Linked DNA regions of Homo sapiens: region 2 is linked to region 1. Evidence: promoter capture Hi-C in human tissues and cell types (Jung and others, 2019). All regions are on one chromosome and are shown on one strand. The core of a region is centred on a gene start or on the middle of the fragment in contact, and the rest is flanking DNA. Distances in the headings are between cores, read along the strand shown. Region 1 holds the start of SRRM4 (serine/arginine repetitive matrix 4). Region 2 overlaps SRRM4 (serine/arginine repetitive matrix 4).

Evidence for each region. Contacts are between HindIII fragments. The study calls those that stand out against the background at their distance.
Region 2: a fragment that was not itself captured here is called in contact with the fragment with the promoter of SRRM4 in region 1 in 2 of the 25 tissues and cell types used here (aorta and thymus).

What each region holds. Positions count from the first base shown.
Region 1 is chr12:118,978,734-118,984,075 of GRCh38, reverse strand. SRRM4 (serine/arginine repetitive matrix 4) reads right to left here and starts at 2,535. Exons shown (of 13, transcript NM_194286.4): 1 at 2,063-2,535. The coding sequence starts at 2,193. The HindIII fragment of the contact is 17,491 bases long and covers 1-5,342 here.
Region 2 is chr12:119,091,101-119,096,442 of GRCh38, reverse strand. All of the region lies in intron 1 of SRRM4 (serine/arginine repetitive matrix 4), which reads right to left. Among named protein-coding and RNA genes, the nearest start is that of SRRM4-AS1, 42 kb to the right of the region's middle. The HindIII fragment of the contact is 4,289 bases long and covers 390-4,678 here.

The DNA of each region.
Region 1 (5,342 bases), core at 1,286-3,785:
TCTGTTCTACAGAGAGGCCACGCCTATTACAGAAGTATTACACAGGATTCTCCTAGCGTGACATAAATCCAGGGCTTATGGTTCAGGCTTTCACCTCAGGGGTGGTTTCTAGGGCAAAGGAGACCCACGACATTAAAAGGCACCAAGAGTGAAATGATACTGGTTGCAGAGGGGGAGTGGAGTATTATAAAAGTCTCAGGATTACATTAGAATTAGCAAAAAGCTGCAGAAAGGATGAGGGTTGAAAGACCTTGTGGGCCATTCATGTGATTGCAAATATGACCAAGAAAAGGGCAGGACAGTAACAGAGAGACAGACAAAAGTGGAAAGTACCAAGCAAGGCAGATAATAGGTGTGCTTTCCTGAATCAAAACACCACCAAGAATCCGCTTTCCTCTCCCTGCACCCCTAAAATAGATGGAAGACTCTGGACTAAATGCCATACTTCTAGTTTCCTGTGAAATTTCCTCTAGTTCCTTCTACAAGGGCATTTTCTTTGGCCAGTGCAGCACCTGATTAGCCAACAGTAGGTACGTTCCAAAGGTGGAATAGATAGCAGAAACCCAGGAAGATAAAAACCACTGACGTCAAAACTCTATACACAGAACCTCCTTCGGAGCAGAGAAGCATCAGCCTTTAATGGCATTTGGTATTATTGTTCCCCTTCTCCAGCCTGTGTCAGTGGGTGGGTGGGTGTCCCCTCCTTCCCGTCTGCAAACACTGGCTGGTGCTGCTTTAGCTTGAAGCCTGCTACACCCTACTGGCCTGTTGTGATGCTTGGCCACCCATTCCTAAATGGGACACCTATTTCTCTAAAGACCTGTATGATCCTCAATAAGACAGTGAAGAGGAAAACTTCTCCAATCTGGCTTTGATTCTTCAGACATAATTTCCCATACGTCTTCCACCTCACACTCACTGGAAAGTTCAGAATCAGTTGTGCCAGAACAGACGTTCAGTCTGTCCTAAGCACTTTTGCAGACATGTTTTCAATCTGCTCCCTAATGCAGACTGCCAGGATTAATAAATCCTCCAAGTGGTCCCCCTGGTCCACTTCTTTCTTTTCTCCTACTAAACCACTCATCCAACACCAGCAAAAGATGAGTTTTCATACTACCTTGATTTTCCCTGACAGAGAGCACAGCCTTCTTCCCTTCATTCTTAAACTCCTCTAAATTGAATGATTTATGAAAAGAATTGGATTTTTCTCTGTCTTGGAATGCTTCCATTTTCCCCCAACCTCCTCTCCCTCTCACCCCACCTCCTGTTCCCCTGTTTCTTTCATTTCTTCCCTTATTCTTCCTTCCATCAGCACCATGTCTACCACCATCCAAGGATCGGTTCTCATCCCTGAGTTCAAAGCAATCAGATTCTTTTTGGAAAAAAAAAAAAAAAACAAAAAAAAACAAAATAAAACTCTTCCAAGATCATCTTCACGATCTTGGAAGGCTCCTCCCTGACTCCTGAGCTCAGAGTCTTGGTTTTGGATGCTGGAGAGGAGAGAATTCAGCAGCAGCGGCAGCAGCCGCCAGAAAGGCGTGGAGGAGGGTGCTGTTTTGGGTGTATTTGAGGGAACAGCATATGGGCTTTTGTCAAAAATGTTCAAAGCTCGCTAGTTTCCGAGCCGAGGATGGAAATGTGTGCTATCTCTGAACGCTGCTTGAGCTGGCTCAGTTCTCCTTTTCTGGTACAACACCCCCCAAACATCTCAAATCCACCATTCCTTGGCCCACCTGCCCTCTGGACTCTGTGACACCAAGAAAAGTTTTTCAGTCAAGTCGTACCCCATCTGCACCGCCCACCCTCAGGTAGCAAAACCTCTTGAATAGGAGCTACGGGGGTCCAATAAGCGTTGCTTTCCCCCAAAGAATTCCTGTCCCTTCTCACCATCTTCCACCTCACACAAGCAATGAGTTCCCATGTTTCAGCGGGAGCCGCCGAGTAGTGACGGGAAAAGACAGGCGCCCTGGCCCGGCTGCCTGCATCCACCCCTCCGGGCTCTGGGGCACAGGCCAGAAAGGAGGACCTTCAGGATCCCCCCTTCTAAGAAGGAGATCATTACCTTGGCAGCGGCTTGCGGGCCGTGATACTGGCGACAATGATGCTCTCGGGACGGGGGGTGGCCACCGCTTTGAAGGTTCCTCGCCAGAACTTCTCAAAAAGCTGCTTCTCGCCTTGCTGAACGCTCGCCATCGCCAACCCAAAGGGGCCGGGGCGTCCGGGGCGCTGTCCAAAGTGCTGAAACGTGGATTCCAAACGGGGGCGACACCCAGCTCCCGGCTCTGTCCGGGTGAAACCCAGAGAGGGGTGGGGTGGGAGAGATCGGAGTTCAGGGCGGGGGATGGGACGCCCCAGCCCGGGCAGGCAGCAGAGAAAGGAGGCTCGTCCGCTGGGCTTTCTTCGCCCTTCTGGGTCGGCTCCAGGCTGCGCTCTGAGCTGGCTGAGCCTCTGCGCCCCAAGAAGGGAAGGGAGGGCTGGCTTTCTGGGCAGCACCAGGAGAGAAGAGGCGACGGGGTCGGATGTGTGTGCGTGCGCGTGTGAGCTCCGGCGCGCCCGGGTTTTGTCTCTCGCACAATGTGACGTTGGAAGAGGAGGCTGGTCGCGCGAGCTGCACTTTCCTCCCCCCTCTCCGTCTCTCCTCCTCCCCACCAACCCCCTCCTCCTCAGGCTCAGCCTCCTGCCGCCATCTGCATAACAAAAGCCCGCAGGTCTTGGGAGGAGAAAGGGCGGGGCGTGCGCCTGTCACCAGGGCCCCGCGGCGACCGAGTTGCAGCGCTGATCCCTCTGAGAAGCCATCCTGGCACCCCAATCTGCGCCAGGCAGGAGATCCTGCTTCCCAGGCCCCTCTCCTCTCCCATCATCGCTGGCCTTCCTCAGCCCTTTCCTGGGTGCCCCCTTTGGGCCAGGCCACCTTTCTTTCCAGCCCCTTCGCAAGTCTTGTAGCTGATCTTCTGCGTGGGGGGGGGGGGGGGGTTGGGGGGGCTCGTAAAAAACTTAATCTATCCACCCCAGCCGGCCTCCCCCAGACCCTCACTTTTGGGAGACACGGCCTAGGCCGGTACAGAGGGTGCCCTGCGTTCCTCTTTGCGCCGGGGGTTAGCGAGGTCTCCACCACCCAGAAAGTGCCATTTGATAGACAATCCCTCACCAATTCGGCTTCTCGCCATCTGCCGAGCAGGGCCCCCGCCCGCCAAGGGGCGCAGCGTTACATCTGTGCATGCGGAGCTGTCAAGGGTATCTCTTTTGTGTCTCACAGCCGGCCTGCCCAGCGTCCCCGCCGCCAACCCCGTCCAGAGGAAAGAGTTCCCATCTCACCCCACCCCACCCCCATCCACTCCTGGGGAATCCGCCTGCAGCCACTTTTCCTAATGCCGCTAGTCTCGGGAAAGGAGTACGTTTTGGAAAAGAAAGCGCTTAGTGGGAGGGTTGGAGAGGAAAATCTCGAGGATTAGCAGGGGGATAGTTACTTTTCGGTCTCTCCTCCCCATCTCCTTACCGCCTCGCAGTTCAATCGTAATCCCAAGCAAGTGGAGGTTTAGAATCCCAAATCAACCCCAGACACAGAAGATCTGGTTAGAATGACTCTTGTTTTCCCCCAGGGTTTTCATTATAAAAAAAAGAGATCGTGGCGGGACCCCTCAGCCCTTGCCTTCCTGGAAGCCTTTTAATCTTAGCAGAGTTGTTACTCCCCCATCTCCCACCTAACGCCCTCCCCCTCCCCCCAACCCCGCTTCCACTTTCCAGGCTGTAAATTCCTGGAAGGAGGCCTCGCTCAGTCTTAAATGCCTCCAAGCACCTGGTGCTGAGTCCCAGTCACAGCGAGAATAAACTCCTGCTCTTTGCTAAAGCAGATAGCAATGGGGACCCAATGAGGGCGGGGTAGGGCGGGGGGGTCGGGAGAACAATGGGAACTCCAGAAATTCTCTGAAGGGGAACAGGAGGTAACTAGGAGGTGAAGATGAAGAGGCCAACAGAGAGGATAAGATGGGGCAGGAGAAGAAAGAACCTTGGAGTAAATGAGTACCCGCCCCAAAGGGTATCTACGTTTGAAGTGTGTGTGTTCGACACGCCTGCGTCCGCTTATTTGAGTGCCTGAGAGCGCTACTTGCTCTGCAGTGACCCCTTCTGGTCAACAACGAGAGGTGCATTTGCTGGCTTCTTATGTGGGTTGCCGGGGGAGAGGGCCCAGAGGTGGGGGTCAGGCCTGGGAAGGTTGGAGATGGAGCAAAGTGGAGACTAGGCTAACCCCTTCCCTTCCTCTCCCTCTTACCTTGCGCCCCAAATCCCCCATTCCCTGATTGGGCTAGACCCCCGTTTCCCACCCAGAAGTTGGTATCATTGTAAATGCAATCTAGAGCTGGCTTCTTATAGGTAGCAGACTGGCATCTTTAAAACTAACCTTAGTCATGACATTTAGGGTATGAACTGAGTCACTTGCAGGAGAGAGGTAGGTGGGATCCTACCCCCACAAGATCAGTCAACATCTTCCAGTTGTGTGCCTGCTCCTAATCCCTAAAATGTTGATAGAGCTCCCATATGCAAAACATTGCCTTTTTAAAATCCCATCGTAGCCAGATGAGGTGGGAGAGAAAGCTGATCTTATTCTATTTTATTTATTTATCTTATTTCAATAGCTTTAAGGGTGCAAGTGTTTTTTGGTTACATGGATGAATTGTATAGTGATGAAGTCTGGGCTTTTACATACCTGTCACCCGAATAGTACCTTACCCCCAAAAGGCCATTATTAAAAAGTAAAAAAAAAAAATAGATGGTGTAGATGCAGTGAAAAGGGAACAGTTATACACTGTTGGTGTGGATGTAAATTGGTACAACAACTATGGAAAACAGTATGAAGATTTCTCAAAGAACTAAAAGTAGACCTGCTCATTCTTTTATAAAGACACATGCATGTGTATGTTCACTGCAGCACTACTCACAATAGCAAAGACATGGAATCAACCTAAATGCCCATCAGTGATAGACTGGATAAAGAAGTTGTGGTACATATACACCATGGAATACTACGCAGCCATGAAAAGAATATCATGTCCTTTGCAGGGACATGAGTGGAGCTGGAGGTCATTATCCTTAGCAAACTAACATAGGAACAGAAAACCTGATACCACATGTTCTCACTTATAAATGGGAGCTAAATGATGAGAACACATGGGCATATAGATGGGAATAACACACACTGGGGCCTTTTGGAGGGTGGAAGTTGGGAGGAGGGAGAGGATCAGGAGAAATAACTAATGGGTACTAGGCTAAATACCTGGGTGATGAAATAATCTGTTCGACGAACCCCCGTGACACAAGTCTACCTATGTAACAAACCTGCGCTT
Region 2 (5,342 bases), core at 1,285-3,784, 110 kb before region 1:
CCATGAGCCAGCATTACCATCCCTACTGTGAAGAACAAACTGAGACCCTGAGATATTAACTGGCAAGAACATCAGCAGCTGTCCTGCTTGTTTATAAGAATCAACTGAGAGGCCGGGCGTGGTGGCTCACACCTGTAATCCCAGCATTTTGGGAGGCTGAGGTGGGCGGATTACGAGGTCAGGAAGATTGAGACCATCCTGGCTAACACAGTGAAACCCCGTCACTGCTAAAAATACAAAAAAAAAAAAAAAAAATTAGCTGGGCGTGGTGGCGGGCACCTGTACTCCCAGCTACTCAGGAGGCTGAGGCAGGAGAATGGCATGAACCTGGAAGGCAGAGCTTGCAGTGAGCTGAGATCGCGCCACTGCACTCCAGCCTGCGCCACAGAGCAAGACTCCATAAAAAAATAAATAAATAAAAATCAACTGAGAACAAAAGGGAGAAGACTCTGGAAAACATTTTCTTTTTTTTTTTTTTTTTTTGAGACTGAGGCTCAATCTATCGCCCAGGCTGGAGTGCAGTGGCATGATCTCGGCTCACTGCAACATCCGCCTCCCGGGTTCAAGTGATTCTCCTGCTTCAGCTTCCTGAGTAGCTGGGATTACAGGCACCTGCCACCACGCTTGGCTAATTTCTGTATTTTTAGTAGAAAACATTTTGAAAATATAGGAAAGGATAAGTGGAGGTACAGGGGGAATCTTGGTAATTACGTTGTAAGATAGGACTGGTCTTATGTGTTTGGAGAGGCTCTGTATCTCAAGGTTTGGCCTGAATCTTATATTCCACAAACAGAAATGGCAGTTGGCCAGGAGATTGGAGACATCGCTGACATTTATTGCCTCCATTCCACAAATAGCTCCTTCTGTGTATAGAGGACTTACTAATCCAGTGTCTCAATTGATTCCTATAACTCTCTGTGGGGTGTGCAGCAGCAGCATGGTGAACCTCCTTCCCTTGCATAGCTGAAGGCACTGAAACCTGGAGAGGCAAAAGTACTTGCTTCCTTCCAGAGATCATGGCCCAGGTACTTGTTCTACCCGTGCATCCAGGGCTGTGAAAGGTCCATCCTTTTTCCCACACTTGCCAGACACCCACACTCTGCCTGTTTCAATAGAGAATGTAGGCCTAGACTCTCATGCTTAAATGCTCTTCAGAAAGCCCAAGAGTTATCATGGGGCTGACCTAGCCCAGAGACAAGATGAAGTTGGCCAATTTGTGCCTTGGCTCCTGGGACCTCAGTCTGGGCTGTGTTAATAATGTCCTGGCCTGAGGTCTTGGCATTCCGACTCGTTTTCAAGGTGAATCCAGTTCATTAAGCCTGGATGGGGGTAATCTTCAGGAGCTGTGACCCTTTGAGCTTTGCCATTGTGGCTTGAAAAAGCAATAGAGCTTAGAGGAAAACTGGGGATTGCACAGCACTGCTGTGGGAGACATCGTTTGGATATAGGGGCAGTAATGTTCATTTTAGTAGAAATTGAATAAAAAATGAAAGGAAGTTTTATGAGGCTGTCATTTCTCTCATTATTTCATTCATTACTCAACAGTTGTTTACTGAACACCTACTTAGTATCAGATTTCAAAGACCCAAAAGTAACCAAGACATTGTTTCTGCCCTGCAGGACTTCTCACCCTGGAAGGGGAGACAGATCCCTAAACCGGGAATTGCAATATGGTATATAAGAAGTTCTCTGATAGAGAGAGGCTTACGGGGGCAGTGGACCCACAGAGAGGGCACCTAACCCCTCCTGGGGAATGTGGGCAGGTGGTCACGGAATGTGTTTCTAGCAGATGAATAGAAATTGGTCAGGAAAGTGGAACAAAAAGGAGGAAGAGCAAGTGCAAAGGTCCAGCACCAAGACAAAGCAGTGGACCTTCGTGTGACTGCAGGGGATGCAGTAAGTTAGAACAGACAGTGAAGGTGGAGGGTGGCAGGCAAGACTTGAGTCTAGGAAGGAAGAAAGGGGCTGGATTCTTCAGGGCCATGTAGACAGGTGCTTTTCAAGCCTTCATGTGCATGGGTCACCTGGGGATCTTGTCAGACTGCAGATGCTGATTCTTCAGTAGGTCTGGGGGAGGGCCTGAGTTTCTGCATTTCTAACCAATTCCCAGGTGAGGCTGTTGCTCCAGGAACTACACTCTGAGTAGCCATGTTGTAGATTCTACAAGGAGTTTGAACTTGATCCTGAGGGATGAGCAACATAGACAAGCACAGCTCCCCACCACTCCCTCTCCACAGGCGATGGATGAGAATGGCTTAGTCCAGTTGTCAGGGCTGAGAGCAAGTGTGTAAGAGTGTGGATGTGTGTGAGTGTGTGTGCTTATGAGTGTGTGGTAAACACTCTTATATATCAATAATTGCTTGGTTCTCAAGTTCAGGTCAAAGGACAAAAGAATCATGTGGAGAAAAATCAGCTCAGCATTTCTTGCCCAACTCAGCCAAGCAGGTCAGGCACCCAACCTGACCGGGTTTTGAACTCATCACAGAACACATCCATCCACTGCCCTCCAATCAACCCCACATCCACCCAGTCATTTCTCCCTCCACAGGCTGGCCTATCAATTGCCTATTTGCTTCATGAGAGATAAAACTGCTGAGAAGTGGATTGGATTCGATTGTTGAGACTGCCTAAAATGCAGGCTGCCTCCAACTAGGGAAGGGACTGAATTCCAAAATGTCATAGTTTTCCACTTGAGCAGGGTGTTCAAAAGGTAATTAGGTGATGCTGGGAAAAATGCATGGGACCTGGAGTCCTGCTGACCTGGGTTCAAGTCCTGATTCTGCTAAGTTGTGTCACCATGGGCAAGAATATCATCTCTCCTTCCAGCCCAGGGTCCCCTGGGGATCAGCTGGAATTGCAGACACAGTTAGGATTTCTCCGGGGAGGGCGAGTTGCTAATTATGTTTTCTTGCCATGGGAGGGACAGGACAAGTGAGTCCCTTTTGGGGACCATCACAGCCACTATTAGAAGAAAGACTAAGCAAACAAGAGGGAACTGGGAAGTGGAAAGAAGCCCTAAGCTTAAGAGGAAACCCCCAACCCAGGAAAGGAGGATCCTTGGTACAAGATCTAGGAGAGTGTAAACTGCTCCCAAGAGGTGCTTCCAAGGACCGTTCACTTATTCTTCATTCAACAAATATTTATTGAGCATCTATTATGTGCAGGCACTGGGAACAAGATAGAGAAAAAAACCTTGCTTGGTGGAGCTCACATTGTACTGCAATGGGTGGAGGTAGGAAGAGAGCAGAAAATAAACATAATTAAGTGGTAAATATTAGAAGGTAATAAGTGCTAGGGGGGAGATGGAATACTACTGCGAGGGGCTTGCAATTTTAAACTGGGTAATCAGAGAAGCCCTCATTGAGAAGGTGAGATTTGAGCAAAGACTTGAAAGTGATGAGGGAGTGAGCCTTGAGCATGCCCAGGAGAACATAACAGGCAGAGTGGAGCCAGTGCAAAGGCCCTGAGGCAGGAACATATGGAATGCAGTGAAGAATTAGCAGTGTGGCTGGAGCTGAGGGAGCAAAGGGGAGATTAGTAGGAGGTAAAGTCAGAGAGGTAATGAGGGATCAGGTATAAGAATCTGGTGGGCTTTCACAGGGACTTGGCTCTTTCCTCTCGGTGAGATGAGATGCCATTGGAGGCTTCATTGGATAGATATGTTCTGACTTAGGTTTTAAAGGATCCCTCTGGCATCTTGCTGAGCCTATATGGCCAGGGATCTGGAATAGATACGGAAGACCAGTGAAGAAATGACTACAATAATCCATATGAAGAAGACGGTGGCTGGGGTCAGTGTTTTTTCTGCAGTAGTGATGAGAGGTGGCCAGATTATGGACTTTTATTGAAGGTAGAATCAACAGAGTTTTTGCATGGATTGGCTATGGAGTGTGAAAGAGAGGGGCCAAGGATGACTCCAAGGTTTTAGGTCTGAGCAACTGGGAGGCTCTTGCTGCCAATCACTGAGCTGGAACAACTGAGATGGGGAAGCATGTTTTGGAAGAGTCTTCTAAAGCTCAGTTTTTGAGATGCCAGTTAGATTTTGAGATGTCAGTTAGACATCTATGTTGAGATGGCAAGTGGGCAAGTGGGTACATGAGCCTGGAGTTCAGAGAAGAGATCAGAGCTAGGGAAATGCGTTTGAGAGATGATAGCATTTGGACAGTGTTTAAAGCCAGGAGACTGGATCTTCTGGGAGTAAGATGGAACGAACACCAGGCTAGTAACTAACTAGATTAAGGGTGAAAGTTGAGGAGGGAGGTAAGCTCCAGTGGCATTCTACCAGTGGGGTTTTAAATAAGAAGATGGCTCAATAGAAGTGCCCCAGCCTGGTGGACTGGCTTTTAAAATATAAAGTGACTGACAGCTCCAAGTTATTCATTTAGACACAGTGATTCATTTATTGTTTGTGCGTTTATTCATCCAGTCATTCCTCAGCTATTCATTCACTCATTCATCTGCTAAGCATCATTTTACTCCTGAGGAGGGTTGTTTCAAGATGATCCAAACATAAGCCTCTCCCTCAAGTGCACAGTCCAGAGGAAGGGATGCAGCAGGTACATTAGAAACTCTCATATAGGGGTATGGGGTGGAAGTGGCTGAGAAAGGAGACATCCTGACTGGGGAAAGGCATGTGTGCTCAGAGGATACAAGGCAAGCTGCACAGAGGGGACAGAGTTACTAACCAGGGAGAGTTGGGAGTGCATAGTGAGTAGACCCATCGGATAGACTCTGCCTGACCACTCACCAGCTGGGTGACCTTGGGCAAGTCCTTTCACCTCCCTGGTGAAACCGCAAATTGCAATCACTTTACAAGGTTGCTGCAAGAATGAAATGAGATGATGCATGTCCAGCACTTAGTATCTGGCACATGGTGGTACTTTGAATATCAGCCACATTTTCCAGGAACAGACGACACTGGTCTCCAGCCTCACTTGCAAAGATTGCCTCTGGAGACCCACTCACTGTGACTCTGACTACCTTTCCTCAAACAGCCAAGGCAAGGGATCCTGGGAAGGAGAGGGATGGGAGGTTGAAGTGCTCTTGAGGGTCCCAGGAGATCCCCCTACACTGAGGCCTTGGCTTCCTACCACCAAGCTGAGTGGCTACTTCAGAACCTAGAAATGATCCTGGAACCTAGAAATGCTACAGAAACCCAATTCCTGCTGAGTTCAGGCTTCTCTCTCTACAGTCCAGGGATAAATTTGTCTCTCCCTCCACTGCAGGGTCACTCACAGGATCCTGTCATCAGCTAGAACTGCAGACAGGGGGCTTCTGAGAGGATGGCTCAGTTAGGACTTTCTGCTCTGCAGACACACACACACTCGTGCCAGAGGCTGAGG